Regions from separate parts of the Homo sapiens genome. Here all the other regions are linked to region 1. The links are contacts of gene promoters, found by promoter capture Hi-C in blood cells and fetal thymus (Javierre and others, 2016). All regions are on one chromosome and are shown on one strand. The core of a region is centred on a gene start or on the middle of the fragment in contact, and the rest is flanking DNA. Distances in the headings are between cores, read along the strand shown. Region 1 holds the start of RAN (RAN, member RAS oncogene family). Region 2 overlaps EP400 (E1A binding protein p400). Region 3 overlaps EP400 (E1A binding protein p400). Region 4 overlaps EP400 (E1A binding protein p400). Region 5 overlaps EP400 (E1A binding protein p400). Region 6 has its middle 15 kb from the start of ULK1.

Region 1 (4,708 bases), core at 693-3,192:
GGCATAGTGGCACGTGCCTATAGTCCAAGCTACTCAGGATGCTGAGGTAAGAGGATGGCTTGAGCTTAGGAGGCGGAAGCTGCACTCCAGGTTGGGCAACAGAGCGAAACCCTGTCTCAAAAAAAAATTAAATAAATAAATAACCCAGATAAAGCCTATATATTCACCTGCAGGAATAACTATGGTACAGTTAGCAAGGCAAGAAACCACAACTTTTTGGTTAAAGGATTCTTTTGGGGGAAATTCTTGTGTTTATTTGTACATGCTCAAGGAAAGCAAAAGGCATGGAATGATTCCAGATAATGTGTTATCGGCAACGTGAGGTTCCAAGAGAGATGAGTATTTTCTTGATTCCTCTTTTTGGTACAATGAACATTTTCCTTGCAATTTTTAAATCAAACTATTTGAGAAAAATACTCTGCACAACTTAGTACAAACAATTTAACAAGAAATCAGCTAGTCTTGTATAACACTTGTTAAGATCTCCTATCTCCTCTGGTCTAGTATCTGGTGTTTATTGTTTTCTAATACAGTAAAAACATTCATTGATCACCACACCAAAATACATACATGAACCTAAGTTTCCAAATACTGAAACTGCTGTTAACAGCCTATTATTGTTTTAAATATGACTTATAAGTCCCAGTGTAAGTCATAGTTTTTTCTAAAGCATGCCTAGCATGACACAGCATGCAAATGACACAACTTTAATAAAATTTTCTCTGCCACCAAAATGGTGGTCAACTCCCCGAAGTCCACTTGTCTTTTTTTAACCCAAAAATGACACTATTTGTTGGAACAGACCTGATTTTCTATAACCTTGAAGACTGAAGTACACAAAACCTCTCAAAAACCGTTCAGCAAGTTACAAATGCCTACCTTGGATATAATAGCCATCTCTCAGTCCACCGAATTTCTCCTGGCCGGCTGTGTCCCATACATTGAACTTAATAGGTCCTCTGTTGGTGTGGAACACTAGGGGATGAACCTCAACACCCAAGGTGGCTGAAACGGAAACGATGCGATTGAGTGGATGAACTTACCCATTTCTCACATATTTCCACAAGCAAGGTTTTCCAGCACATACCTACATACTTCTTCTCAAATTCACCAGTCAAATGACGTTTCACGAAGGTCGTTTTTCCAGTACCACCATCACCAACCAATACAAGCTGTTGAAAAACACATTTTGGAAGTAAACCCTAAACACTTCACCTCTCAAGATCCCAGAGTCACGGAACTTTAACCACCACAGGCTCACTTAAAACAAAGAATGTGGATGCGGGGCCCCATTACAGCCATCGTGGCCCCAGGAGGAGGGACCCGCGAGTCGCACGCGGTCGGGCTCGGCCGCCTCCCGCCCCGCAGGGTTACCTACTTTGAACTGGACCTGGGGCTCTCCCTGCGCAGCCATCGCGGCGTTCCTGCGGAGGCAGAGGACGGAGGCGAGCGCTCGCGCGGCCCCGCAGCCCATGGCGGCCCCGCTCCCGCGCCCCCAGCGCCCCACGTGCCCGCCCCACAAAGGCCTCCCGCCCGCGGCGCCATGGCGGCCAGGCCTGGGAGCGGGAAGGCGGCGGGCGGGGCCGGCATCCGGGGCGGCGGGGCCCGGGGAACGGCGGCCGGAGGTGTAGGGATGGGAACGGGACTGGGACCGGGACGGGGATGAGAGCGGAGGATGAAACGGGGGTTCGCGGGGGCTAGCGCCGACCCCACGCCCGTCTCCTGCCCCGGCCCGGCCGGGCCCGCACCACCCACCTACTCAGCCGCCCGCTGCCCCTGGGTCCGCCACCCGCCCCGGCCCTGGCCCCGGCTCCGACCCCTATCCCGCCGCCGCCACCCCTGTCCCCGCCCGGCCGTGCCGGGCCCGCCGGGTCGCGATACCTTCCAGAAGCGTCTCCGCGCCCGTCCGACTGAGGCTGGAAAGATGGCGGAAGCGCAATTCAAACGCCGGAGACGCAGCCGACGCCGGCGCGAGAGCAGGGGCGGGGCCGGCGCGGGGCGGGGTTGCAAGGGGCGGGGCAACGGCGCGGCGCCCGCCCACGTGGCCCGCGCGTGCGCGCACGCACGCAACGCGGTTCGGTCGGCCGCTCGGGCGGTCGCTGCGCTTAGGGTGGGGCGGGAGGCGCGGTGGACCGCGTGGGAGGGCGAGCCGGGAGCGCGTACGCAAGCCGGCCGGTGGGGACCGCGTGCGCCGACGCCCCGGGCGGGCTCCCGGGCGCGCATGCGCTGAAAGCGAGGCGGCGCGCCCCTGAGCGGGAGACGTTGGGCGCGGCCCGACGGTCGCGGCTCTCCTGCCTCCCGGGTGGGAGGCGGTACTCGCTCGGGCAGACGTGGTCAGGCACGCGGCTTCCAGGCGCTGGCCAGCCTGTCCTTGTCTGTGCCCCGTGGGGTGGGGGTTCTTGAGGTCCTGGGGCTTAGGGTGGCTCGCGTGCGCGCAGGACGGGTGGGTGACAGAACGAATGAATGAATGAATGGGGTCTAGGCCCGTCCTCCAGAGGCAGCCCGCTGTTCTGTCTCTCCAGATCGTAGCCTTCACGCCCCCAGGACCAGGGCCAGTTGGAGAGCGAGGAACCAGAGAGGGATGCACCCACCCAGAAAAACGGCTACTTATTTTTTTTAAGAGACGGAGTCTCGCTACGTTGCCCAGGCTGGTCTCGAACTCTCAGGCTCGGGCGATCCTCCCGCCTCAGCCTCCCGAGTAGCTGGGACTACAGGCGCGCACCACATCAGGGGTAATTTTTTAAAAATTTTTTTGAGAGACAGAATCTAACTATGTCTCCCAGGCTGGCCTCAGGGGATCCACCCGCCTCGGCCTCCCAAAGCGTCCGGCTTCTCAAAGCGTTTCATAGGTTGGCAGCTTTGGCCGCTGCATGCTACAGACAAAATGATGAAATACTGTTTGCAGTCTGGACGCGTCTACCAGCCCTAGTTACCAACGGGGACGGAATGAGTAAGTGCTCAGCTTCCCAGCCCCCTGTTGGCCTGAAGCTGTAAGAGCCCAAACAAGCTTGAGCTAGAGGGACCCGACTTCCTGGGCGCCCCTGCCGACATGCAGACAGATAAAGGCCCAAATCAGCGCAGTCAAGCGCCTCAGAAGAGTCCACCATGGGGAGAGAGCCGCAGTGACCGAAGAGTCCTCCCTGCAGTCCTGAGCACACTTGCAGGCGAGTCCGCTAGGAACCCCAGTGACGCAAATTAGGCACAAAGCAGGCGACAACCGGCCTGCTGGGAACGCAAGTCCGAGCTCCCCCAGAACCCTCAGGGGAACCCCAAGCACCTCTCAGACGCTGCTGGCGGGAGAGCAGAATCTAACAGTAAAACGGGAATGCCCATTGCTTGTGACCCCGGATTTCCATTTCTAGGGAGAGGCCCCAGAGTTAAACTCATGCCTCACGCATGTGCACAACATTTAATACTGTATAACATTTAAAAGGAATGACGGTCATCTGTTTCAACAGGGTTAGATAGATGTCAAAAGGATAGTGTTGAGAAAAGAAGAAAGAGGTGATAACAGCTTTATAAAGTCTAGGCCACCTGTAATCCCAGCACTTTGGGAGTCCGAGGTAGGAGGATCCCTTAAACCCAGGAGTTACAGGCTGCAATGGGCAATGATCTCACCATTGCACTCCAGCCTGGGAGACAGAGCAAGACCCTGTTTTCAAAAATTAATACATAAAACCTAACACTATATGTAACTTTATCTAGAGGGATTATATATATAGTATAATGTCATTTATGTATATTTTTTACAAATACACATAAAACAAAAGCATATTGGCTATTGGATATATGTATTTTGTTGTTTTTTTTAATTGACTGCAAGGATCTATATACCATATCCTGATGGTTATTGCTTCAAGAAAGGGTAGAAAGGAGTGTGATGGAACTGAGAAGAGGAGTCAAAGAAGACTTTAACTTTACCTGCAATGTTCTATTTCCTTTTTTTTTTTTTTTTGAGACAGCCTCACTCTCGCTCAGGCTGGAGTGCAGTGGTGCGATCTCGGCTCATTGCAACTTCCGCCTCCCAGGTTCAAGTGATTCTCCTGCCTCAGCCTCCTGAGTAGCTGGGATTACAGGCATGCGCCACAACACCCAGCTATTTTTTTTATTTTTATCTTATTTTTATTTTTAGTAGAAACAGGGTTTCATTATATTGGAATAGGTAATCGAGTGGTCACTTTGGCAGCACGTATACCAAAATTGGAATGATACGGAGAAGATTAGCATGGCCCCTGCGCAAGGATGACAATTTTTTTTCTTCTTCTTTTTTTTTTTTTTTTTTTTTTGAGACAGATTCTCGCTCTTGTCACCCAGGAACTGCGGAGAGAGGTCATAGAAGAGTTTAACCTTACCTGCAATGTTCCATTTCTTTTTTAAAAAATGGTAATCAGGGCCGGGCACGGTGGCTCACGCCTGTAATCCCAGCACTTTGGGAGGCCAAGGCGGGCAGATCACGAGGTCAGGAGATCGAGACCATCCTGGCTAAACCGGTGAAACCCCGTCTCTACTAAAAATACAAAAAATTAGCTGGGCGTGGTGGCGGGTGCCTGTAGTCCCAGCTACTCGGGAGGCTGAGGCAGGAGAATGGCGTGAACCCGGGAGGTGGAGCTTACAGTGAGCAGAGATCGCACCACTGCACTCCAGCGTGGGCGACAGAGCAAAACTCCATCTAATCAGGCTGGGTGCAGTGACTCACGCCTGTAATCCG
Region 2 (4,708 bases), core at 1,154-3,653, 1.2 Mb before region 1:
ATGATTTAGAGGAAGCCATGTTGTCACTTTTTCCATGAGCCACGTAGTACAGAGAACGCGGCACTCCATAAGGACCATTTGTCCTGCAGTGTGGGATGCATTTTAATAAAATGATTACACTATTTTGTTTCAATTATATCTTTCCCAGTGCTGAATCTCTTGCGTGACATGGTCCCAAGGTTCACTAATAAAGCGTTTTCTGTGAGGAAGGTAGTTTTGCTTTAGATGAGAGGCAGCCCTGCTGCCCTGACTACTGGCACGGAGGCTTAGTAGGTGTCTTTAGCCTGACAGCAGGGACCCTCATCTGTAACTTGGGCTGCTGGCTTGGGCTGTCGGAGCTGGCGGGCACCTGGGCTGGGTTGGGAGCGCCTGGAGTCTGGAGCGGGGCCGACGCCGTGGTCACCACCTGCTGCTGAATGAGTTTCTGCTGAACCACCTGGGCAGTCGCGGTCACTGCAGGGATCATCTGCACCTGCTGCCCGGCCGCCGTCGCCTGCGTGAGCGCCACAGTCTGTGGAGAAGCCTGAGCCGAGAGAGTCAGAAAACACACATTGCCCAGGAAACTCAGTCCAGGGACAGGAAAATGGACGTTCTTTGGGATGGGGAGGACTCGAGAAACTTCACTGACTATGCTTTTATGACACGGAAGAATGACCAGTCACACAACAGTATGACCTCTGGTTTCCAATTAAACACAAGTGGAAAATTAAAAGATGGTTGCTTTTAGACTAACACCAGATGCCTCTTGGGAAAAGGGTGAGAGCTGGGTCAGGGACTGATTTTGTTGTTGTAGTAAAGCTTTTAATAGAGTTTGGTTTCTTGAAATCTATATGCCAGTGTGACTTTAAACAAAATTTAGAAAGTTTAAAGCACCGCTTTACATTTAAAGCACTGTGCTAAAGAGTCATATTGTGGAGCATCAGTGACAACAGTGAAAGCGCCTGAAGGGCTTCTGTGGGAGGCAAGGCCACTGTGCCCACAGCGCCTCTGCTCAAGGGCGGGCCCCGAGCGGAGCCTGCTTGCCTGAGGCCTGTGCCTCCCTAAAACCACAGGGCAGTGTCTGCGACTTGCAGGACACACCCGCGATGATCAGTGAATGAAGGGTCCTGGGAATGAGCCCAAGGTGAGGCTCCCTCAGTATGGCTGACACAACCTCTAAACGCTTGTTCACTCTTCTCATTATTAAGTGTATCTAGTTTTTCCCCTGAAGTTAATGTTTTTGTGTGTATCACAAAAATCAAAAGTGATTCCCTAATCATGACCTCAGATGAAAACAACCCATTCTCTGACCTGGGAAATGTGAGGTTTCCACTTTGTCTATGCGTCCTACCTGCTGGGAAGCAGAGGCAACTTGCTGGATGCTGGCCACGGGTGTTTGCTGTTGAACAACTTGAGGAAGTTTTGCAACCTTTGACAAAACAAAAAAAGCCAAACATACAATTCAAAGGAGTATGTGCACAAAAAGAGATTTTTCCTCCCTTTCTGTCCTCAGTTAATGCAAAAAACACAATGACCAGGTGACACAGAAGAGCAATTCTCGTAGTGTGCCCACCTGCAGCAGTGAGAGAGCAAGTCGTTCCACTGCATGGTGAGTCAACTGACTGCCTCCCCAATTTGCCATCACTCATCATTTAAGCTTATTTTTGGTCTCATATTTCAGACACATTTTTTCTTTTCACAAAAACGACTGCAAGTTTATATGAAAGAATCAGACTGAGGATGGTAAGTATTTGAGCGTCTTGTGAGTCCCAAGGGCTCTGCATATGACAGGCCTGGACGACGTTCCAGTAATGAGCTGTACAGTGCAGCTAGGGCAGCCAGCTGAAGTGGGGAACCCGGTGACGCACCAAGGTTTTGAGGCTGGTAATTTTATCATTTTTCTACATTCTTCTTAGTCATGATTGAGATCTGGCTATTTATAAAGCAACACTTTCCACCCAGTGCCCACTTTCTGTGCACTTGCTACTGCATGCATCTCCCGCTGTCTTGACGTAGTAAGAGGCTCTGGGCCACCTGTGTGTCCTATCAGCACCGTCATGGCGTGCACCCAGAACACAAGAGAGGCTCCAGCGTGGGCAGCTGCTGGGGGCCCTGATTTCAAGGGCCCTCCCTGCACAAGGCCCTCACGGACCCTGGTCTCTTGCTGGGTCCTGTTACTTACAGAAAACGGATGAAAATAATATTTCCCAAGATTATTCTGCGAAATATGTGAAATTACATGATTTACTCACACATGAACAAAGGTCGAAATAAATGTTAGTCCTTACTAAAATTAAAATCAATCAGAAGGCATTTACTAGTTTACTGTCACTTAAACAATTATAAATAAAATTCACTAAGATAAGTGCCCTGAGCGCCCCCTGTGGAACTGCTGGGAAACAAAGATGCAGCCGGTGCTCCAGGGCCCATCTCAAGACCACAATGGTCCAGGACTTACTTGGCACAGCACTGAAAATCCTGAGACGTCTTAAATAAAGCACTAGCAAGAAATCTTAAATGTACCAAGAAACCTGCAAAGAGTCAGGAACTGCCAGTCTCCAAACCTAAGCACAGGCGGGCATCACGAGTCACGGAGCAGAAAAGCTGCACAACCTCTGCCCGGGATCGCTGGCCACATGGAGACGCACCCCGTGATCTCCAGGGTCGCACAGGACACAGCTGACCAGACACCAGGTATAGGCCAGTTCTCGGTGGGGAGCTTGCAAAAGAGCCCCGTGCTACTGCCAGCTGCCATCCTGGAGGGAGACACTGTACCCACAAAGGTACCCAAAGGCTGCAAAGAAAGCATCCCCTTCCTCCAGTGGCATCTGTAAGAAAAGCACCTGCCCTAAGCCTCAGTGCCGGGGAGGAGAGAGGAGGAGACACAGATTCAGAGGCCAGGTGGGTAACACCTGAGAGCTGAGTGAAAGCCTGAGCCACACACCAAGCAGTGTTCCTGTGGCACCTGAAGGTGCCCGCGGAAGCAAAACTCCACCTTTGCCCCAGGCTGCGAGGGGTCCCCGCAGATGCAGCACATTTCAGACAGGGAAATCACCAGATCCAGAAAAACACCTCACTCACTCTGCGAGGCCTGGAAACAAGAGACTATAAACAAAGACCAGGCATTATTTGGGAACTTCTGAAAATAAAATAATAAATCATCAAGATAAAAATTCAACAGACAAGCTTTGAAGCAGATTTGACTTAACCAAGGGAAAAATGAGTGACTGAGGAGACAGAGCGAAAGACATGACTCAGAATATAGTACGACGAGACAAAGACACAGAAAATACAAAAGCTGCTGAGAGACCTGGAGGGCAGAGGAAGCAGGACAGGGGCAACACGTAAACAAACAGTGGCTGCTTATTTCCTAAAGACATGAGAGAGACTGCCCGAGATTCAAGAAGCTGGAGCATTGGAATGAAACTGCAAAACAACAAAGACAAAGACAACGTCTCGATAACAGGCAGACAGTGGGGGAGAGAGGTGACCCAGAACAACAAAGACAAAGACAACGTCTCAGTAACAGGCAGACGGTGGGGGAGAGAGGTGACCCAAAACAACAAAGACAAAGACAACGTCTCAATAACAGGCAGTCGGTGGGGAAGAGACAGGTGACCCTGGAAGAGAGAAACGCTGGACAGACACCGGCTCCTCTTCAACAACAAAAGCAGCCACAGTGAGGAAATGATACCGTGAATGCACTCAGAAAACAATGCCGACCGGGCGCGGTGGCTCATGCCTGTAATCCCAGCACTTTGGGAGGCCGAGGCAGGTGGATCACCTGAGGTCAGGTGTTCGAGACCAGTCTGGCCAACATGGTGAAACCCCACCTCTACTAAAAATATAAAAATTAGCTGGGCATGGTGGTGTGTGCCTGTAGTCCCAGCTACTCGGGAGGCTGAGGCGGGAGAATCTCTTGAATGTGGGAGACAGAAGTTGCAGTGAGCCAAGATCATGCCACTGCACTCCAGCATGGGAGAGTGAGCCTCCGTCTCAAAAAAAAAAAAAAAAAAAAAAAAAAACCCCAAAAAACAATGCCAATCCGGAATTCTGTACTAAGCAAAACTGTCTCTCAGGAACAAGAGTGACACACAGGCATTTTCAAGCACTAAAGGAAATTCCAAAGGATGGGTCAAGTGGAAGGAAAGTAATTCCACATAAAAAGTCAAAGATGAAAAAGGACAGAATTATGGCTGGGCATGGTGGCTCACGCCTATAATCCCAACACTTTGGGAGGCCAAGGCAGGTGCATCACGAGGTCAGGAGTTCGAGACTAGCCTGGCCAACATGGTGAAACCCATCTCTACTAAAAATACAAAAATTAGCTGGGCCTGGTGGCATGTGCCTGTAATCCCAGCTACTCAGGAGGCTGAGGCAGGAGACTCGCTTGAACACAGGAGGCGGAAGTTGCAGTGAGCCAAGATCGCGCCACTGCACTCCAGCCTAGGCGATGGAGCAAGACTGTGTCAAAAAAAAAAAAAAGGAAAAGGGACAGAATTAAAACGCACACTAACAGCAGCATTTGAGATGAATAAACTGAGCTACTGTGTGATAAGATCATTGCTGGAGAAGAGGGTGGAGGCCATCGTTAACTTCATACTCTGATACAGAAGTGTGCACATGGAGATTTTAGGGTAACCACTTAAAGAACAGAAAGAAAATATATAATTTTTCACTGGCAGAGGGGAGAATTGATAAAAAAAAAAAAAAAAAGAGAAGGTGGCCC
Region 3 (4,708 bases), core at 1,272-3,771, 1.2 Mb before region 1:
ATTCCCTTGGCACTTTTACTGAGGTCAACTGAAAATGTGTGTGTGTGTGTGTGTGTGCGTGTGTTGTGTTGGGGAGGGGTCTATTTCTGGACTCTCTATCCAATTCCATCATCTACACATCTATCCTGCCAATGCTCCATCATCTAGGCTACTACAGCAACGACATCTTCACAGGAAAGATGCTTTTCAAAACCCAAGAGAGACTACATTCTACTTGCCAAAGCACTGACTTTGAAGCATCGTTTCTTCTCATTCAGGGTATGTTGCCCCTGGGTCTGTGAACTATTTGGAAAATCGAGATACAAATCTGAGCTCCTTATTCTCACTTGTGTTTGGTTCTGATGATGAAACACCCAAGAGAAGCAGGTGGTCCCAGGGCACCACATGGCTCTGCACCTTTGCCTAGGTGCCTCCTCTCCACCTGGGTGGGCTGCACCTACCGCTTCCCACACCTGGGGTCTCCACGTTCCGTAGAAACTGCCCGCTCCTCCCATGCCCACCTGCTCCTTGCACACACCCAGCCATGCCCTCGTGTGATGCCGTGTCCCCTCCCCCAAAACCACGCCCCCAAGAGGGCTGTCATCTCTTAGCTTCCCCACATGGGCACAGTGACAAGCACATGGGGGGCACCTGCGGCAATAGAATCAGCAGCGGACCCTCACATCCCGCCTACCTCCTATCTAAAATCATCCTACAGGGAGGGGACAGTTCACACACACACACACACATACCCTCCTACACTTCACACACACACCCCTACACTTCACACACACACACACCCCTACACTTCACACACGCCCCCCTACACCTCACACACATACCCCTACACCTCACACACACCCCTACACCTCACACACACAACCCCTACACCTCACACACACCCCTATACCACACATACCCCTACACCTCACACACACCCCTACACCTCACACACACAACCCCTACACCTCACACACACCCCTACACCTCACACACACACACCTACACCTCACACACACCCCTACACCTCACACACACACACACACACCCCTACACCACACACACACACACATACCCCACCTCATTTTCATCCCTCATACAGAATGGAAACCATCCCCTAAACAGCTGAATGTTTCTGAAATCAACATACTGATCAGCTACTTATTTTATGAAATTCAAACTAGACAGTTTTTCACCAATGGAATACTTAAAAAGAAGAAGAAGAATTAACAGACAAGCAAATAATTTCGGCAGAATGCAGTCAAGGTGCACAACCCAGGTGAAGCGCAACTCACAGTCAAGGCCCCAGGAGCCACTGGCGACGCCAGGCGCTTGTTGATGGACTGGAAGGTGGCAGCTGGGACCCCTGCGATGGTGTTCACGATCACATTTCCACTCACGGCACCTGCGGAGACAGGCGGGCATAAGGCAACAGCGCCAGGAGAAATGGGGTCCACATTTCAGCATCTCTGTATTTGTCTTACCAGTGGGCATGCTCGTCCCAGTAACTGATGTTTTAATGGTTCCTGCCTATTTAAAAAAAAAAAATCCATTTGAATTTCACGTCAGGCTCTCCCCTGCATAAATCCTCCAAAGGCTTCCACTTCATTCAGAATCAAATCCAAACTCCACGACATTCACACAGCCACCTGTCCCATCCTCCCCAGCTCATTCCACCTGGCGGTGCCCCCACCCTCTGTCTACCTGCTGTCCCTCCACCCCTATCCCATTGTCCCTCCACCCCAGGGACCCTCCATCCCACTGTCCCTCCACCCTCACCCCACTGTCCCTCCACTCCTCCGTCCCTCCACTCCATTCATCCACCCTCTGTCCCTCACCACCTGAGTCCAGCCACACTGAGCTTTCTGGCCCCCATATCAGCCAAGCTCAGGGCCTCTGTACTTGCTGTTTTGTTCTTCTTATGACCAACTCCTTGTCATTCAGGCCTTAGCTCAAATGCCAAGTCCTCAGAAAGGTGTTTCCTAACAAGCCAGTCCTGCATTGTGCCACCCTGACTCCTCCCGCCAGCATTTAAAATGATCCCTTTGGCTGCCTCCCTCCCCTGTAGGACGTGGCTCCAGAATGTGGGCACTGCCCATCTTGCCCACCTTGCACCAAGTAAGTATTCACAAAGATCCCTTTTGAATAAATGAGGAATGAAGTTGCCTGAGTACATATAAAAATTCCACTACAGCAAACAATTTTCTAAAAACTACTGCAGGAAATGGTTCTATGTAACAAAAATATTTTTATGCCTGCCTGGTAGTCCAAAGTGTGGGTTTCCCCAATTTGGCACAGCTCCTATTCTCTGCAGGTGTGATTCTGCGCATATGATTTCAGCGTCTGTGTGGCACACGGACGCACACAGTACAGAGATACACCAGAGCGTGGTGTGCATGGCCACAGTCCGCAGCTCCGCACCCTGCCTTTCTTTTCACAATGCTTCTTGTGTGCTTTACAGCTTTTCTACAACAGGCATTAAAGACTGACCTGTGTGGGGGAGCACACATGGGCATGCTTTGAGACACCGACACAGGCAGTACCTGCTCTCTAAGTGTGTAGGAAGTCAGGAAGTGAATGCGTCACAGGTATGTTTTACAAAACCCAGGCAATTACAAACTTCCCAACCACCTCCACTAAAAGGAGCTGCCTCTACCTGCCAAATCCAATAAAGCCACTAAGCCCACAAAAGCCCTGGAGGAGAGAAATGGCAGAATCCAGGTGAAAACACACAATTCCTCTGGGATGAGACTAAGCCTTTTCCCATTTCTTCAGAGGAAGGTCTACAAGCTGGAAATGTGCTAGAACTGGCAACAAGTCTTCGTTTCAACAGAAAGCACTTGAATCAAGTGCAGGTGTGGGTGACTTCCCGTAGAGGGGAAGCCCGGGAGGAGGCCCCTGCTCACCAGTACGGCTGCACTGCCCCCCGTCGTGATTGCGGGCTGCGCCTTCGCTGGGGCCTGCACAGGCTGTGGCTGGGTCTGGGGCTGTGGCTGGGGTTGGGGCTGGACAGCTGGTGGCCCTGCTGGCGGCTGGCTGCCCGCTGCCTGTGGTTGTGGCAGCGGTGGCGGTGGCTGCTGCGGGGGTGGTGGGGGCTGCGGCTGGGGCGGGGGTGGCTGGGCCACGGCCGGCTGCTGTGCCTTCTGCTGATCAGCCAGAGCCTGAGGGGCCAGGAAGGAAGAGGAGCCACTGGAGGGGCAGACTCGGCCTGCATACCCCCTGGATGAAGTCACAGTCACCACATTTTCCCACTCAAGCAGAAGGGCCCAGGGCGCTGACCTTTTTCTCTTTTGCGATTCGCTCTGCACGGAGAGATGCCACCTGGATGGGAGGCAGCGGCTTGTCATAGTTGATTCCACTGAAAGACAGACGCAAAGGTTAAAAACATACAGGCAAGTTTTAAGACAGACAAGTACCACGTACCCTAGAAACACCATGCTGCCAGGTGCTGGGGCAGCTCCAGCCCAAGAGATGAGGGCGTAAAGCAAGGTGCCCAATGTGCCCTGCAGGAGATCGAGCCACCTAGACCTCATCCTCAGCCTGGCGCTGAGTCCTCTTCCTTGAGGCCGAGCTCTCCCACTCTCCAGGAAAAGTATCTCCGAACACGTCCCCAGCGTACTTGTGGCAGCCCCCAAACGCACAGCCCACCTCATGTGTCTGCACTGTACTTGGGAAAATCTCTGTCTGTTCCTTCTGTGAGGATGCCCTCGAGTTCCTCTCCAGGGAGGTAAAGGGAGGGCGGGACTGTGCCTCTCTCGCTCCCCCGAGAATGCCCAGGCTCCACGCCGCGCAGGCCCGCGGTCCATAAATATTAGTAGGGTGAATTAACTCTTCATTTAATCGACAACATCAATCAAATGATGGGTCTGTGCTCCCAGACGCTAGAGTCCCAGCGATCACAGCACTCACATCAGACGACAAACAGGTAAAATGTGCAGTGGGTCTGAAGACGTACTGGCTGCTATGGAGGAAAACAGCAGGGCGGGGCTGCAATTCTCAACAGTGCGCTCTGAAAACATCTCACGAGGGCAGTTAAGTGAAGGGCTGGGGCGCGGCTGCCAGCACACTCAGGGAGCACCAAGGGGCTGAAAGCCAGGGCCAGGCGACTCAGAGCGTGGGCAGTAGGGAGTCCTGGGGGTTTGCGGAGATGGGCCCTGAGCCAACTCCTTCTGACAAGGATCACTCCACTACTGTGCGGAAAGGGGGCCACAGAACGAGGAAGCCTCCCAAATCCGCCACTGTGTGACAACTGTGGGCGGCAAGCCACTCAGGTGCCGAGGCAAGAGACCAAGGACACGAGCTGTTCCAGTATAATAAAATATAAAACAAGAATAGTTATACCAGATATAGATCTTAGATATGATTATCTATGAATATCATTAATCATTAGTTGGTAGCAATTACTCTTTATTCCAATATTATAATAATCCTCGCTCTATAATCATAACCTAGGAAAAGCCAGGCCATACAGAGATAGGAGCTGAGAGGACACAGTGAGAAGTGACCAGAAGACAAGCGTGCAAGCCTTCTGTTATGCCCGGACAGGGCCACCAGAGGGCTCCTGGGTCTAGCGGTAACGCCAGCGTCTGGGAAGACACCCACTGCCAAGCGGACCGTGGTCTAGCAGTAGCATTAGTGTCAAGGAAAAACACCCACTACTTAGTGGACCGGGAAAGGGAGTCTCCCTTTCCCCAGGGGAGTTTAGAGAAAACTCTACTCCTCCACCTCT
Region 4 (4,708 bases), core at 1,619-4,118, 1.1 Mb before region 1:
GTTTTAGGGACAATTTGTCTCACACCTATATTAGAAAGCAGCAAATATTTCTGTTACTTATCTATTACTTAGAGATGGGGTCTCAGTCTGTGACCCAGGCTGGAGTGCAGTGACACGATCTCGGCTCACTGCAGTTTCAACCTCTGGGGCTCAGGTGATCTTCCCACCTCAGCCTCCTGAGTAGCTTGGACCACAGGAGAGCACCACCACGCCTGGCCAAATATTTCTACTTTGATCTACAAAATACGAAACTCTCTTCAAAGCGCAGATGCTGGTAACGAAAGTGCCTGTTGTTTATCTGACACGCATCAAGTGCAGGCAACCCGGTGGCTGATGAACGTCATCTCGCTGGTCTTCCATGAACCCATGAGGTGAGATGCATCATCGGACACAGGGAAAAGCCTGACACTTAAATGCACAAGGCAGGCCCGTGGGCAGCAGGGCTCATGGTGAGGCGCTTTTGTCATTTTTGGCATCAGTGCTCTCTCATCCTTATCCTTACCTTGCAGCTGCAGCGGCTGGCCCGCTGTGAGCTGCCGGAGCTGGCTGTGTGACAGGGTGAACTTGCTGCCCTGGAACTGCAGTGTCACCGGCGTCTCTGGCTGAGCCACGCGGCTCTGTGGTCCTGTGATGGATGCCAGCTGAGCTATTTTCACTACCTCTCCACCTGTTGAAACGTAGAGGAAAAGGTGAATTCAGATCATTTTGGAAAAAATTTGGGAGTGTCATATTGACAGTCGTTTCTTGTATATAATGACCATCTATCATAAACTGAAGCACCACAGAAATGTTTATCAGGTAGTGTTTTCTACCACTTCTTAAAAATAATTATTTTAATTAAAAAGAGAAAACAAAATGTCAGATTTTAATGGTTAACTTTACTTAACCATAATTGGTTGGGATTTTAGATATCAGATATTGATATTATTAACGAAGCTATTAAGGAACATTTTACTTTTCTACCGAAACAACAAAAATAGCAGAAATCAGCTGGGTGCAGTGGCACATGCCTGTAATCCCAGCACTTTGGGAGGCTGAGGTGGGTGGATCACATGAGGTCAGGAGTTTGAGACCAGCCTGGACAACAGGGTGAAAACCCATCTCTACTAGAAATGCAAAAAAAAAAAAAAAAAAAAAAAAAAAATTAGCTGGGCATGGTGGTGGGCGCCTGTAATCCGAGCTACACACGAGGCTGAGGCAGAAGAATTGCTTGAACCCGGGAGGCAGAGGTTGCAGTGAACTAAGATCAGGCCATTGCACCCCAGTCTGGGCAACAAGAGTGAAACTCCATCTCCAAAAAAAAAAAAAAAGCAGAAATGTATTTGTAATACACTTGGAAACTCACATATGAACCTAAACTTTAGAGAACTTTAAAAATGTGAAAAGTACCTGTCCAATTTAGCTCACAAAGAGAGATTATATCTTTACAAATATAAAAAAATAACTAGCTTCAATTACACCCATAACTCTTCAAAATCTAAGAATGTATTTTTATTTATTTTGTGAGAGACAGGGTCTGGCTGTCACCCAAGCTGGAGGGCAGTAGCAGGATTATAGCTCACTGCAGCCTCAAACTCCTGGGTTCAAGCGATCCTCCCACCTCAGCCTCCCAAGCAGCTGGGCCTACAGGTGTGAGCCACGGTGTCTACAAGATCTAGCAATGCCTCTAGATACATAAAGAAATCACATACATAAATAAAGCTTTAAGATATAAAGCTTCATACTAATTTGAATTAGATGGTAAGCGTCAATCTATAACATTTACTGTTTAAAAAAAAAAAAAGTAAAACTTAGCGTTGCTTAAAACACTTTTTTTGAAAAAACATAACTCAGATGTGGTCATTTGCCCCCAACTCAAAAAGGTACTACCTTCCGGCTACAACTGAACAACAGGTTTAAAGACTTATTTCCCAATGGTTGATACTTGAATCTAAATGTTCTTCCCGAGAAATCCATGCCAGAATTATTAGTGATATGATAAAAAGAATAGTTAGTAAGAGGCTAGAAAAATGTCTAGAGATATCTTGCCCACAGAATAACCGTGAACAAGGAGGGGAAAATGAAAACAGAAGACAGAGATTTGTGCATAGAAGTGTCAATCTCTCAACAATCCTCCTTGTTCCATACACAGGTGAGGACCGACCCACAGGAAAAGCAGTTTTGCTCACTTCACAGATCTCCCAAAGAACAGCTCCTCTGGCAACCACCAACATGACTCTCATCCCACGCAAGACAGTGTCTAGTTTGATGAAGATGTAAAATATGCAACTGCTTTCTCCCTTAGGGCACTTAACTAGGACAATTCCTCTTTATTTTTGGGCAATGGGAGAGAGAGACTTGTAAGGAAAGAGAATTAGTTTGAACTCAAGTGTCTCTGTGCATCACTCCCTCTCCCATCTGCATCTTTCCAGAAAGGCCTCCACATAATTTGGCTATACCAACAACAAAAGGAGTTGAGGTGGCACTTGAGAAATAACATAATACTTTAAGTCAGGATAATTTCCACCACAGAATGAATAGGGTACATGTAAGGTTTGAAAACATACTAATCCCACTGGACACAGCAAAATGTTCTGTATTAAAAAAATTAATAACTGTGTTTTTTAAGTCATAAATTATTACAAGTTATCTTGGTTGAGCAATCCCAAGTTTAAATTTGGTAACAGGCGAGAGACTAAAAAGAGCTAATGTTTTTTAGGAACCTAAAGCTAGTTCACATGACTGGCAAGGAAGCGACCTTCCCAAATGCAGTCGCTGTCACTCTAGGAGCATCTGCTCCCCCAGAGTGCACCTGTGTGGCTGGTGGAACAAGGCCGGGGCTAACACTGGGAAGTGCCGTCCACAGCACCAAAGCAGTGAGTGAGTGCAGCAGAAAAGCAGAGCTGGATGGCGGGGTCAGGAGAGAGAGCACAGACAGGAGAAGGCCGGATGTGGCCTCCACAGAGGCGCTCCCTGCTAGACTCATGCCGGAGGCAGCTGCACTGGTGAGAGGCAGCACCGGGCATGGGGCTGGGGAAAGACAAAGGAGTGGACAGCAAGGCTCCTCCTACATCCCCGTGTTCTTAACACAACTCCTCTGGGGTAGAGAGATGGCAGAAACCTGGAAAGGTGAGGCCACTTACTGGGCAAGCGGGCCTGGGCCTGCGAGGGGAGCACCAGCCTCTGAGGCAGCGCGCTCTGCCCGGCCGCGTGCGAGGGGGCCTGGGGCTGGGGCGGGGGCTGGCCTGGGGTGGAGGCCTGTGCTGTGGTCTGGGCCCGCAGTTTCGCAGGATGGGCCGGGCTAGCGGCTGTGCTGGAGGCCGAGGCGGGCTGGTGTCGTGGAGCACTGGCGGAAGCCTGAGAGGTCTGAAACGGGGCTGCTGCTGCTGCAATCGATAAGGTTTGTTTGTGCAAAGCTGTTAGAGGTTCTTAATAAAATACAATATTTTAAACTGAATTTTAAAGAAATAAAATAAACATTTCACACCGTCTCTCAAATGAGAAGTCCCCTCTTAAGGAAAAAAAGAGGGGCCATATAGTTTACAGGGTGAGAGAAATATAATTTTACTTGTTGATAATTATCTTCACTTCGAGCTACAGTACGCTACGCGGTACATTTCTCAGAGTAAACAGAAACTGTTAGAAGTCAGCCCAACCAAACATTAGTATCAATTAGAAACTATTTCCTAAACACACAAAGAAAACATCAACAGAGCTTCCACTCATATTTCTATAGAGAATGCTGGCAACAATGCAGGTCTGAGCATTTATTTTTAGCTCAGAAAACCTGGATGGACATGGCGTGGAGGGCCCCTTTGGCCAGGTGGTGAAATACTACTTTTAACTCTTTTGATGGCCTTTTCTACTCTACCCTTCCTCAAAAGAATAATTAAGTTCAAGTGACAGCACAAAATACAATATGAGCAGACGTTCTCAGGAGTCTCCTAGACGACTGCACGCACGCACCTCTGTCAACAGAAACAGCCTGCCCAGTGGCTGTGAGCATCAGATCAACACTTATCACCTAGGAGTGAAGCTTCTTCAATAGGGAAAACATCCATTACAAGCCATCAAAAAGTCTAAAACTCATCAAGAACTAAACAAGGCACCTTCAGAAAGCCAGCGGGTGGTGCCTGTTCCCACTCAGGGACAATTACCGCATCCAGAGGCGCGAGAAGAAAGTGCCATGAACTTGTCCCACAAAAACCTCCATAAGGCGGAGAGCAGACAACTACGTGAAGTCTACCTTTTGCCTCCGGATTGGCAGAGAACGTGGCGATGGGCGGCCGTCCTCGAAGCGGGCCCTGTGGAGCAGCAGAGGCCGTGGTGGGGGCTGCCGTCCGGGGCGGGTGAGTGCTGGGGAAAGCCACGGTGCGACCCTCGGGCTTCTGGCCATACTGCACAGGCTGAAACAACCTAGATGCCCATTGGTCCAGGCAAGAAGATACAGAGCATCAGACCACAGAGAGGACAGGCCACCTCATGGAGCCGGGGTTCACCGCTGCCCATAGGAAGCCAGCTCAGGGACCAGCACCCAGAGTGCAGTTTACAGAGGGAAGGGGAAAGATGCCTAAGTACTGCTCTAGGTAAGCTCACCCCGGGCCCGGGCGCAGTGGCTAACAAGACTAAGTACACCAAAGTGGTATGGTACATCCACCCAGATTCCTGGGAATACAAGGGTGAATGCTGTTTTAACTTTCACAATCATATCAATGTAGATAGAAAACAA
Region 5 (4,708 bases), core at 1,104-3,603, 1.1 Mb before region 1:
TCTGCAGCAATAGCAAAGCCTACTTTAAGTCTGGAACATATAGTGGGAACCACATTCCAAGATGTTTACTGAACACTTCTCTTACAAGAGCAAGAACAGTGAAACCTTGTCCTGTGTTAGAGACACAAGTCACACCTTCCTCTGCAGCTAGGCACAGAGCAGGAGACTAGGGTGGGCACTTGACCCAAAAGCCAAGAGAGGAAGGGGAGTGAACAAGGAGCTGACTCTAAAGACTGGAAAGGAGGCCAGAGGGCCTACACAAGCTGTGTACCAGCTAGAAGTGTCAGGAGGGTGAAGAGCCAGTTGGGGCTGCCATGCAGAGACTGAGCCCACACAGTGTACCCAGGCCCATTCCCTAAGGAACCTGAGCAGTGGATCAGAAACGCTGCCCCATTGACAGGTGAAATCCAGCAAGAGGGACGAGAGGAGGCATGGACATGATAACATGAAAAGGATACAGTGAGCCAAGATGCATGCCACAAACCACCCCACACGGCTGAGAGCCCAACGGCGGGTTCATGCCAGTCTAGAAGCAGCATGGGAAGTGGACCACCTGCTCTGCTGCCCACACACTGCACAGTGACCTGACCCTGGAGTCACAAGGTTCAGTCATAGCCTGACGAGTCTCTGTATTTTATTAGATTTTCACTAATTGTTACTGGATGTTAACTGTGAACCAGTTTTTTATTCATTCATAAAATGAATACTTCTGAGCCTCAATTTGCTCAGGTCAACAGATAGGAGCAAAGAAGTAGATAAGATAGCCAAGTCCCCACACTCCCATCAAACACACTGGCCTATAGGTAAGTCCTAGCAAATAGGTATTGTTAAAAAAACTAGCAAACTCTTACCTTCGTTACAAGCTAGGTGGGCAAAAAAAGCAATGATCTGCACTGTTTTACCCAGCCCAGCTTCATCTGCCAATATGCCATTGAGATTCTTCCTGTAAAGTTTGGCCAGCCAGTCCAGGCCAATCTTCTGATAATCTCTGAGAGCCCCATACAACAAAGATGGAGCATTAAACTTGACCTGCAGTGATGAACAAATAAAAGAATGACAGCTCGTCAAAATAATCACCCAAACTTTTTCTCAAAACTGAAATCAACAGTCACATGATAAACCAATTAGAAAGCCACAAAAATGATCTACAGAAAACAGGAAGAGGAAGAATTGCTTCTTTTGGAGATCGAGTCTCGCTAGGTCACCCAAGCTGGTCTTGAACGCCTGAACATCTGGCCTTAAGCAATCCTCTTGCCTCACCCTCCTGAGTAGCTGGGACTACAGGCACATGAAGAATTGCTTTTTCTGACAACTCTGCAGTTGGGATAGACCATTTCACTGGGAAGAGGAAAAGCTTTTCTCATGGCTAAGCTATGTGCTCTGTCTCTCAAAGGCCCATCCCACACTTGAAAGCTTAGCGCCTCACCGAGGTTGTGACCCGAGCACTGCCCTTCGGCAGGATGGCTTCAGCCACCGCAGTGACGTCCGCAATGTCCTTGGCGTTTGGCTTCCCGATATTCATCCTCTCGGCAGCTTTGAACTGATCCATGATGAAAAGCGAGTCGATGAGAACCAAGTCCTTGCGACTCTCCCTGTCGCCTGGACAGTCATCTGCATCTGTAACGACAATAAAACAGAGAAGTGAGGGCCACTGAGAAGGCTTTATAAATCTAAACCTTTTTTTAAAACAGGAAAAAGTTTATAGAATCCAACTACTTTAAATACTGAATTAGGCAATAATTTTTTATTTGTAATCCAAAATATCTAACAATGCTACCTGGATAAATGGGAGAGAACTCTCATGAAACTATCAAACCAAGGACCATTCTGGAAAGCCCTCCAAGAGTATAATTTGCCCCAAATAGTCTGGCATTTTGGAAAATGTCTCCATAGCAATTAGGAGCTGGTATCACAGAGAGATACATGTAGGTGTCTCAGGGTTTAGGGATCTCCCGTCTATCACCAAGAAAGAAAAAAGCAGAACCCTTTCCCAAATGTGGGAAACCGGGAGGAGACCAAACCCGCCACTCCTTCCTCTGGTCCTGCTGGCAGCGTGGGGTCTGGTAAGGCCTGACCTCCCCAAGGCTCCTGTGGGCCACTCCCCAACTCGCATGCAGGTGTCTAACTGTCCCAACAACTGGAATGAGAGCAGGAAAGGCAGACCTTTTCTGGTATGCTCTGTGCATCTGTTTAGAAAGTCTAATACCAAGTAAAATAAACTACTCAAAACTGGTGTGTTGAACAAACACAGCACAGCCTGAATAAATATATCTAGGTCCATAAAACAATGATGTTTATAAATCTAGAGAAAAATATTTTTACATCCTTCACAACATGATCAAGTGCCCCGATAACTGTGCCAGGTTAATAAATTAAAAGCACGGAATTTAATAAAATTCTATTCAATATAAAGATACTTATTAAATATTTCTAATTTTTTATTTTATCAAACTAAAAGAAATTTTCTAAATCTTATTTTAAGTCTTTGTAAGTACTCCGGCTTCTGCTTTTAACCCTGAATTCTTCCAAAGGCTGGGAGCGCACCTTCCTCTCCGCTTGTGTCCTCCCCATCAGGCTTCGGCCGGGGCCACTGAGAACTCGGCAGGAAGGCGCCTTCGTACAGCTTCATCAGGTCCAGGAGGGGCAGCTCAGCTGCAGAGGGTTGCGGGCAGAAGGGCTGTTACTTTATAACAACAACTGTAATTTAAATTGGGAAGGAGCAGCAGCCAGGAGAACCACGGTAAGAAGGGCAAGGGGCTCCCTCTCACATGTATTCCTTTTTCCAGCTTTAGATCACTCCTTGGAAAAAGATTATATTGTCTAAAAGCACACTTGTTTTTTCTAAAAACTAAAATGGTTGCCCATTACTGATAAAAGGTGTAAAATATTTTGTTGGGGGATGCAAGGGGAATGATGAGAAATTACTTAGTAGGTGCAACACACATTTGGGTCATGACATACCAGAGACCCAGACTTCACCACTACACAGTACAGCCAGGAAACAGCACTGTACTTGCACCCCTGAAATTTATGCAAATTTTTAAAAGTATAAAATATTTTCTCTATAAAGATGAGAATCTTTGAAAGAAACTCAATTGTATTCACAAAAGATTTAAAATATCTGAAATAATCTAAATGAACAGTAACAGTATAGACTAATAAATAAAAATGTAAAAAGTGAACACCATTGATAGGAAATAACTGATGAAGATGATATATAAAAATACAAAATATCAAATGAAGAAACAAAAAGCAAAAATGTTAAAAAGTATAATAAAACATAATTAAGCTTTTTTTATAAAACACTCACCCTAATTGCTTAAAAAAAAATACCACACATTAATTAAATCCCCAATAACAGTGGGCAAAGGATATGAAGCTGTTACATACATAAAAGTGTAAAGGGCAATAAAATGTTTTTTCATTAATCATCCCTGGAAATCAGTGCACAATTTGTTAAGTACCAAATTATCAACCACCTTAAAATCATAACACTGGGAAATTATTATGAATTAGATACTCCCACATGCTGCTGATAATGGCATAAACTGGCTGGATTTTTCTGGAAATCAACACGGAAAGCTGAAGGGCTTTGGAATCCAATGCCCTCAACCTCATCATTTCCCCTTTTAGTGAGTCTATCCAGAGGAATGACAGAAATGTGAACCCAGATTTCTGTTCAAAGAATGTTCACACAGTGGTAGATCTAACAGGGGAAAACCCTTTAGTTGGGCTGTGTACTTGTGATATGTGAGCTTGTTTGCATCTGTATTTTATGTCAAAGACTGTTGAGCCAAAACAACAAATGCCATGGACAAGCACCCTACAAGGACCATGTTAAAGGCACTGTCCACTTGGGACTAGCAAAACACTTTTTGAATTCATTTGCTCAGGATGTTAAATATTTGCCACACTGGCTTGATGGACATAGACCTAATGGAGCCCAGTGAAAGTAAGTGTTGGCTGTGGAATTCAGGTGGTGTGTCCATGATGTTCCTAACAAGGTTCTTCACCTTTCCTGTCTGTCTGATGCTTCCAGAGCGAAATGCTGGGATGCACCACTACAGCATATGATGCTATATGTAAGTAGGAAAAACAAGCCAAACCACTGGAAACTTCCAGTAAGAAGATAATTCTGTAAGGTGTCTCAGAACAAACAATACACAGAAATCAGCCTCCACATATGGAAATGAGTTAGAAAATGAAATCGAAGAAAAAAAAACCTGTTTAGACAGAAAATTAAATACAGTCGTCCCTCAGTATCCCTGAGAAGGTGGTTCCAAGGCCCCTTTCGATACCAAAATCCAAGGATGCTCAAGTCCCTTATATAAAGTAATGTATATTTGCACGTAACCTATACACATCCTCTCATATATTTTAAATAATCTCTAGGTTACTTATAATACCTAATACAATGTGAATGCTATGTAAATAGTTGTTACACATTTTTTTGGTATCTTTTTTGTAATTGTTGTACTGTTATTTTGGCTTATTTGGTTTGGGGGGTTTTTTTGGTTGGCTGTTTTTTTTTTTTTTAATATTTCTTTTAGAGATGGGGTCTTGCTATGTTGCCCAGGCTGAACTTGAACTCCTGGGCTCAAGTGACCATCCTGCCTCAGTCTCCCAAGCAGCCAGGATTACAGGTGTGAGCCACCACACCCAGCTGTGTTCTTATTTTTTACTGTTTTGCTTTGTTTTGTTTTTGGTA
Region 6 (4,708 bases), core at 1,370-3,869, 1.0 Mb before region 1:
CAAGGCTGCAGAGAGCTGAGACTGTGGCACTGCACTCCAACTCAGGAGGCTAAGTGGGAGGATCACCTGAGCTTGGGAGGTCAAGGCTGCAGTGAGCTGTGACTGTGGCACTGCACTCCAGCTTTCATGACAAAGTGAGACCCTGTCTCACTCTGAAAAAAAAAAAAATCTAGGACAAGAGTCAGCAAACAACCGGGCACAATGGCTCACGCCTGTAATCCCAGCACTTTGAGAGGCCGAGGAGGGCAGATCATCTGAGGTCAGGAGTTCAAGACCAGCCTGGCCAACACGGTGAAACCCTGCCTCTACTAAAAATACAAAAATTAGCCGGGTTTGGTGGTGGGCACCTGTAATCCCAGCTGCTCGGGAGGCCGAGGCAGGAGAATCTTTTGAACCTGGGAGGCGGAGGTTGCAGTGAGCACAGATTGCAGCATTGCACTCCAACCTGGGCAACAGAGAAAAAAAAAAAAAAAAAAAAAAAAATCAGTAAACGTTTTCAGTAAACCTTTCCTGCAAAGGTCCAGGTAGTATATACATCTTCAGCTCTGCAGCCACACAGGCTCTATCGCAACTGCTTAACACTCTGCAATGGTAGTGTAACCGCCCAAGGGGTTCACCTTGCCCACTGCTGAAACAAAGCTGATTCGTGGAGACAGGGGAATTGCAATCGAGAAAGAATAATTGGGACGGGTGCGGTGGCTCGTGTCTGTAATCCCAGCACTTTGGGAGGCCAAGGCAGGTGGATCACCTGAGGTCAGGAGTTCAAGACCAGCTTAACTAACATGGCAAAACCCCGCCTCTACTGAAAATACAAAAATTAGCCGGTCATGGCAGTGCACACCTGTAGTCCCAGCTACTTTGGAGGCTGAGGCAAGAGAATCACTTGAACCCAGGAGCCGGAGGTGGCAGTGAGCCGAGATCGCACCACTGCACTCCAACCTGGGCAACAGAGCAAGACTGTCTCCAAAAACAACAACAACAACAACAACAACACAACAAAAAAGAGTAATTCATGCAGAGCCGGCTGTGTGGGAGACCAGAGTTTTATTATCACTCAAATCAGTTTTCCCGAGCATTTGGGGAGTAGAGTTTTTGTTTTTTCTTGTTGTTTTTTTCACACACAACGTGGGTGAATCTTGAAAACATGATTCTTGTGAAAGAAGACAGACGCAAAAAGACATATTGAGATAAAGGACTAGCTGGATTTCCTAGGCCGACTAAGAATCCCTAAGCCTAGCTGGGAAGGTGACCGCATCTACATTTAAACACGGTGCTTGCAACTTAGCTCACACCCAACCAATCAGGTAGTAAAGAGAGCTCACTAAAATGCTAATTAGGCTAAAACAGGAGGTAAAGAAATAGCCAATCATCTAACACCTGAGAGCACAGAGGGAGGGACAATGATTGGGATATAAACCCAGGCATTCGAGCCGGCAATGGCAACCCCCTTTGGGTCCCCTCCCATTTTATGGGAGCTCTGTTTTCACTCTATTAGATCTTGCAACTGCACATTCTTCTGTTCTGTGTTTGTTACGGCTCGAGCTGAGCTTTCACTTGCCGTCCACCACTGCTGAATGCCACCATCGCAGACTCGCTGCTGACTTCCACCTGTCCAGGTCCGGCAGGGTGTCGGCTGTGCTCCTGATCCAGTGAGGCGCCCATTGCCACCCCCCATCAAGCTAAAGGCTCGCCATTATTCCTGCACAGCTAAGTGCCCAGGTTCATGCTAATCAAGCTGAACACTAGTCGCTGGGTTCCACAGTTCTCTTCCATGACCCACGGCTTCTAAGAGAGCTATAACACTCACAGCATGGCCCAAGATTCCATTCCTTGGAATCAGTGAGGCCAAGAACCCCAGGTCAGAGAACAAAAGGCTTGCTGCCATCTTGAGAGTGGATGCCACAATCTTGGGAGGTCTAAGAACAAGGACCCCCCCCAGTAACATTTTGGTGATCATGAAGGGACCTCCAAAGTGGTGAGTAATATTGGACCACTTTCGCTTGCTATTCTGTCCTATCCTTCCTTAGAATTGGAGGAAAATACCGGGCACCAGTTGGCAGGTTAAAAACACTGGACTTAAGACTCAGGTGTGAGGCTGTCTGGGAAAGGGCTTTCTAACAACCCCCAACCCTTCTGGGTTGGGAGCGTGGTCTGCCTGGAACCAGCTTCCACTTTCTGGGGAAGCTGAAGGCTGATTAGAGGCAGAAAGCTGTCGTCCTGAACTCCCATCATTAGCCTGTTGAGATTATGGTGTGGCCAGAAGTCTCTACTCAACAGTTGTCCATACATGCACCCCTACCTTTCCTTTTGACCCATACTTCCTGGGTCCTGAGCATGAATTTCTTGAAAGTGTAGCCGCAAAATTCTCCTTACTGCTGAATCTACTTCCTCTGATCCCTGCCTCCTAGATACTAATGCTTCAGACTTTCACTTCCTCTCCCAAGTATTAGAGCAGGTTGTATCTCCAAAGGGATCTAAGGAAGCTCTACGCTGTGTCCTTAGGCCCCTAGGCTATGAACCCAGGGAGTCTTGTCCCTGGTGTTCCCCCCAATTTAGGCATACAGCTCTTGACATGGGCAGTTAGGTGGGACCCGCTCCTACCACCCTTGCCAAGGCCTTAGAACTGATAACCCAGTATTTTAACAATTGGAACTGGGTCTACAACAACATAATAGATCAGGATATAAGTAAATTGAGTAAATAAAAGGAAGGTACATATTCCTATAGTGGCAAATGGGGGCAACGAGCGAACGTCCTTCCACTGTTTCCAAAAATCCATCTGCAAAGACAGAAAGGAGAACATAAGAGAGAAAGAAGTAGTAAAGAAAAAACAGTGTACCCTATTTCTTTAAAAGCCAGGGTAAATTTAAAACTTATAATTGATAACTGAAGGTTTTCTCTGTGACCCTATAACACTCCAATACTACTTTGTTGTCATTGTAAATAAGGGTGTAGCCCGAAAGCACTGAGGCCACTGACAACCAGTAGCCTTCCTATCAAAAATCCTTAACCCAGTAACCCCTGGGGGGCCAAATGCATTCAATCTGTAGTGGCAACTGCTTTGCTAACAGAAGAGAGCAGAAAATTAGCCTTTAGAGGAAACCCCATTGTGAGCACACCTCACCAGTTCAGAACTATCCTAAGTCAAAAAAGCAAAAAGGTAGCTTACTAACTCAAAAATCTTAAAGTATGGGGCTATTCTGTTAGAGAAAGATAATTTAATGTTAACCACTGAAAATTCCCTTAACCCAGCAGACTTCCTAACAGGGGATTTAAATCTTATTTACCATACTAAGGTCCGACCAGACCTAGGAGGAACTCCCTTCAGGACAGGACAATAGATGGTTCCTCCCAAGTGATTGAGAAAAAAACACAATGGGTATTCAGTAATTGAGGGAAACTCTGGTAGAAGTAGAGTTAAGAAAATTGCCTAATAATGGGTCTGCTCAAACGTGCGAGCTGTTTGCACTCAGCCAAGCCTGAAAGTACTTACAGAATCAAAAAACTCTATCTCAATCCTGACTCAAAAGGTTACCCACACCCTCTCTGAAATGAATTTGCATAAGAACTGTTGTTTATGGGAGTGCATCTTGATGGGGTAACTGGGGTTTATTATGAAATACTCAGGAACCCAGCCCAGCTCTAGAACTCACCCTTGGGTGTAAAGGCAATGTCGGGCACACTATTAAAGGACCACTAGAATCAATAGCCCGGACCTCTTTCTTTGTGGTCAAGAAAGGTGGGAAAACAGGTGCAGGACCTGCTACGTCGGTGAGTGTAACTAATCCAATAAGCAGAGGTCCGTGGGTGGTTACGCACCCTGGAAAGGAATAAGCATTAGGAACATAGAGGACACTCTAGGACTAACGCTCATCAGAAAATAACCAGGGGTCCTGGCATCCCTATGTTCTTTTTCCAGATAGGAAAAGTTCCCCTAAGGCAAAAACGCTCCTAAGATGTATTCTGGAGAATTCGGCCCAGCCAGAGTGTATGTGCCTTTTTCCCTCTCAGACTTGAAGCAAATTAAAATAGACCTAGGTAAATTCTCAGATAACCCCGATGGCTATATTGATGTTTTATGAGGGTTAGGACAATCCTTTGATCTGACATGGAGAGATGCAATGTTACTGCTAGATCAGACACTAACCCCTAATGAGAGAAGTGCTGCCATTACTGCAGCCCGAGAGCTTGGAGATCTCTGGTGTCTCAGTCAGGTCGATGATAGGATGACAACAGAGGAAAGAGAATGATTCCCCACAGGCCAGCAGGCAGTTCCCAGTGTAGACCCTCATTGGGACACAGAATGAGAACATGGAGATTGGTGCTGCAGACATTTGCTAACTTGTGTGCTAGAAGGACTAAGGAAAACTAGGAAGAAGCCTATGAATTATTCAATGATGTCCACTGTAACACAGGGAAGGGAAGAAAATCCTACTGTCTTTCTGGAGAGACTAAGGGAGGCATTGAGGAAGCATACCTCCCTGTCACCTGACTCTACTGAAGGCTAACTAATCTTAAAGGATAAATTTCTCACTCACTCAGCTGCAGACATTAGAAAAAAACTTCAAAAGTCTGCCTTAGGCCTGGAGCAAAACTTAGAAACCCTATTGAACTTGGCAACCTCCATTTTTTATAATAGAGATCAGGAGGAGCAGGCGGAACGGGACAAACGAGATAAGAAAAAGGCCACCCCTTTAGTCATGGCCCT

What was found. The method cuts DNA at HindIII sites, captures the fragments that hold promoters and counts their contacts. A CHiCAGO score of 5 or more calls a contact.
Region 2: a contact is called between a fragment that was not itself captured here and the fragment with the promoter of RAN in region 1, in 2 of 17 cell types (total B cells and naive B cells). The highest score is 9.3, in total B cells.
Region 3: a fragment that was not itself captured here is called in contact with the fragment with the promoter of RAN in region 1 in 2 of 17 cell types (total B cells and naive B cells); the score reaches 6.2 in total B cells.
Region 4: a fragment that was not itself captured here is called in contact with the fragment with the promoter of RAN in region 1 in 1 of 17 cell types (total B cells); the score reaches 5.2 in total B cells.
Region 5: a contact is called between a fragment that was not itself captured here and the fragment with the promoter of RAN in region 1, in 3 of 17 cell types (endothelial precursors, naive B cells and erythroblasts). The highest score is 5.4, in endothelial precursors.
Region 6: a contact is called between a fragment that was not itself captured here and the fragment with the promoter of RAN in region 1, in 1 of 17 cell types (total B cells). The highest score is 5.8, in total B cells.

Annotation. Positions count from the first base shown.
Region 1 is chr12:130,869,300-130,874,007 of GRCh38, reverse strand. It overlaps RAN (RAN, member RAS oncogene family), which reads right to left and starts at 1,942. Exons shown (of 7, transcript NM_006325.5): 1 at 1,882-1,942; 2 at 1,379-1,424; 3 at 1,088-1,172; 4 at 880-1,005. The coding sequence starts at 1,414. It also overlaps the pseudogene RNU6-1077P. RefSeq lists enhancers at 81-150, 1,379-2,140, 2,638-2,717, 2,141-2,902 and silencers at 1,428-1,637, 1,688-1,827, 1,898-2,357. The HindIII fragment of the contact is 6,850 bases long and covers 1-3,009 here.
Region 2 is chr12:132,073,216-132,077,923 of GRCh38, reverse strand. It overlaps EP400 (E1A binding protein p400), which reads right to left. Exons shown (of 53, transcript NM_015409.5): 52 at 1,331-1,408; 53 at 1-523. The coding sequence ends at 251. Among named protein-coding and RNA genes, the nearest start is that of SNORA49, 44 kb to the right of the region's middle. The HindIII fragment of the contact is 1,529 bases long and covers 1,639-3,167 here.
Region 3 is chr12:132,051,775-132,056,482 of GRCh38, reverse strand. EP400 (E1A binding protein p400) reads right to left here. Exons shown (of 53, transcript NM_015409.5): 42 at 3,259-3,337; 43 at 2,886-3,140; 44 at 1,464-1,509; 45 at 1,275-1,384. Among named protein-coding and RNA genes, the nearest start is that of SNORA49, 23 kb to the right of the region's middle. The HindIII fragment of the contact is 6,897 bases long and covers 1-4,708 here.
Region 4 is chr12:132,019,736-132,024,443 of GRCh38, reverse strand. It overlaps EP400 (E1A binding protein p400), which reads right to left. Exons shown (of 53, transcript NM_015409.5): 22 at 4,226-4,395; 23 at 3,123-3,365; 24 at 503-667. Among named protein-coding and RNA genes, the nearest start is that of SNORA49, 9.1 kb to the left of the region's middle. RefSeq lists an enhancer at 1-549. The HindIII fragment of the contact is 2,299 bases long and covers 1,719-4,017 here.
Region 5 is chr12:132,003,021-132,007,728 of GRCh38, reverse strand. It overlaps EP400 (E1A binding protein p400), which reads right to left. Exons shown (of 53, transcript NM_015409.5): 13 at 2,545-2,652; 14 at 1,427-1,617; 15 at 852-1,029. Among named protein-coding and RNA genes, the nearest start is that of SNORA49, 26 kb to the left of the region's middle. RefSeq lists an enhancer at 736-1,935. The HindIII fragment of the contact is 1,876 bases long and covers 1,416-3,291 here.
Region 6 is chr12:131,877,428-131,882,135 of GRCh38, reverse strand. No RefSeq gene overlaps it. Among named protein-coding and RNA genes, the nearest start is that of ULK1, 15 kb to the left of the region's middle. The HindIII fragment of the contact is 8,001 bases long and covers 1-4,708 here.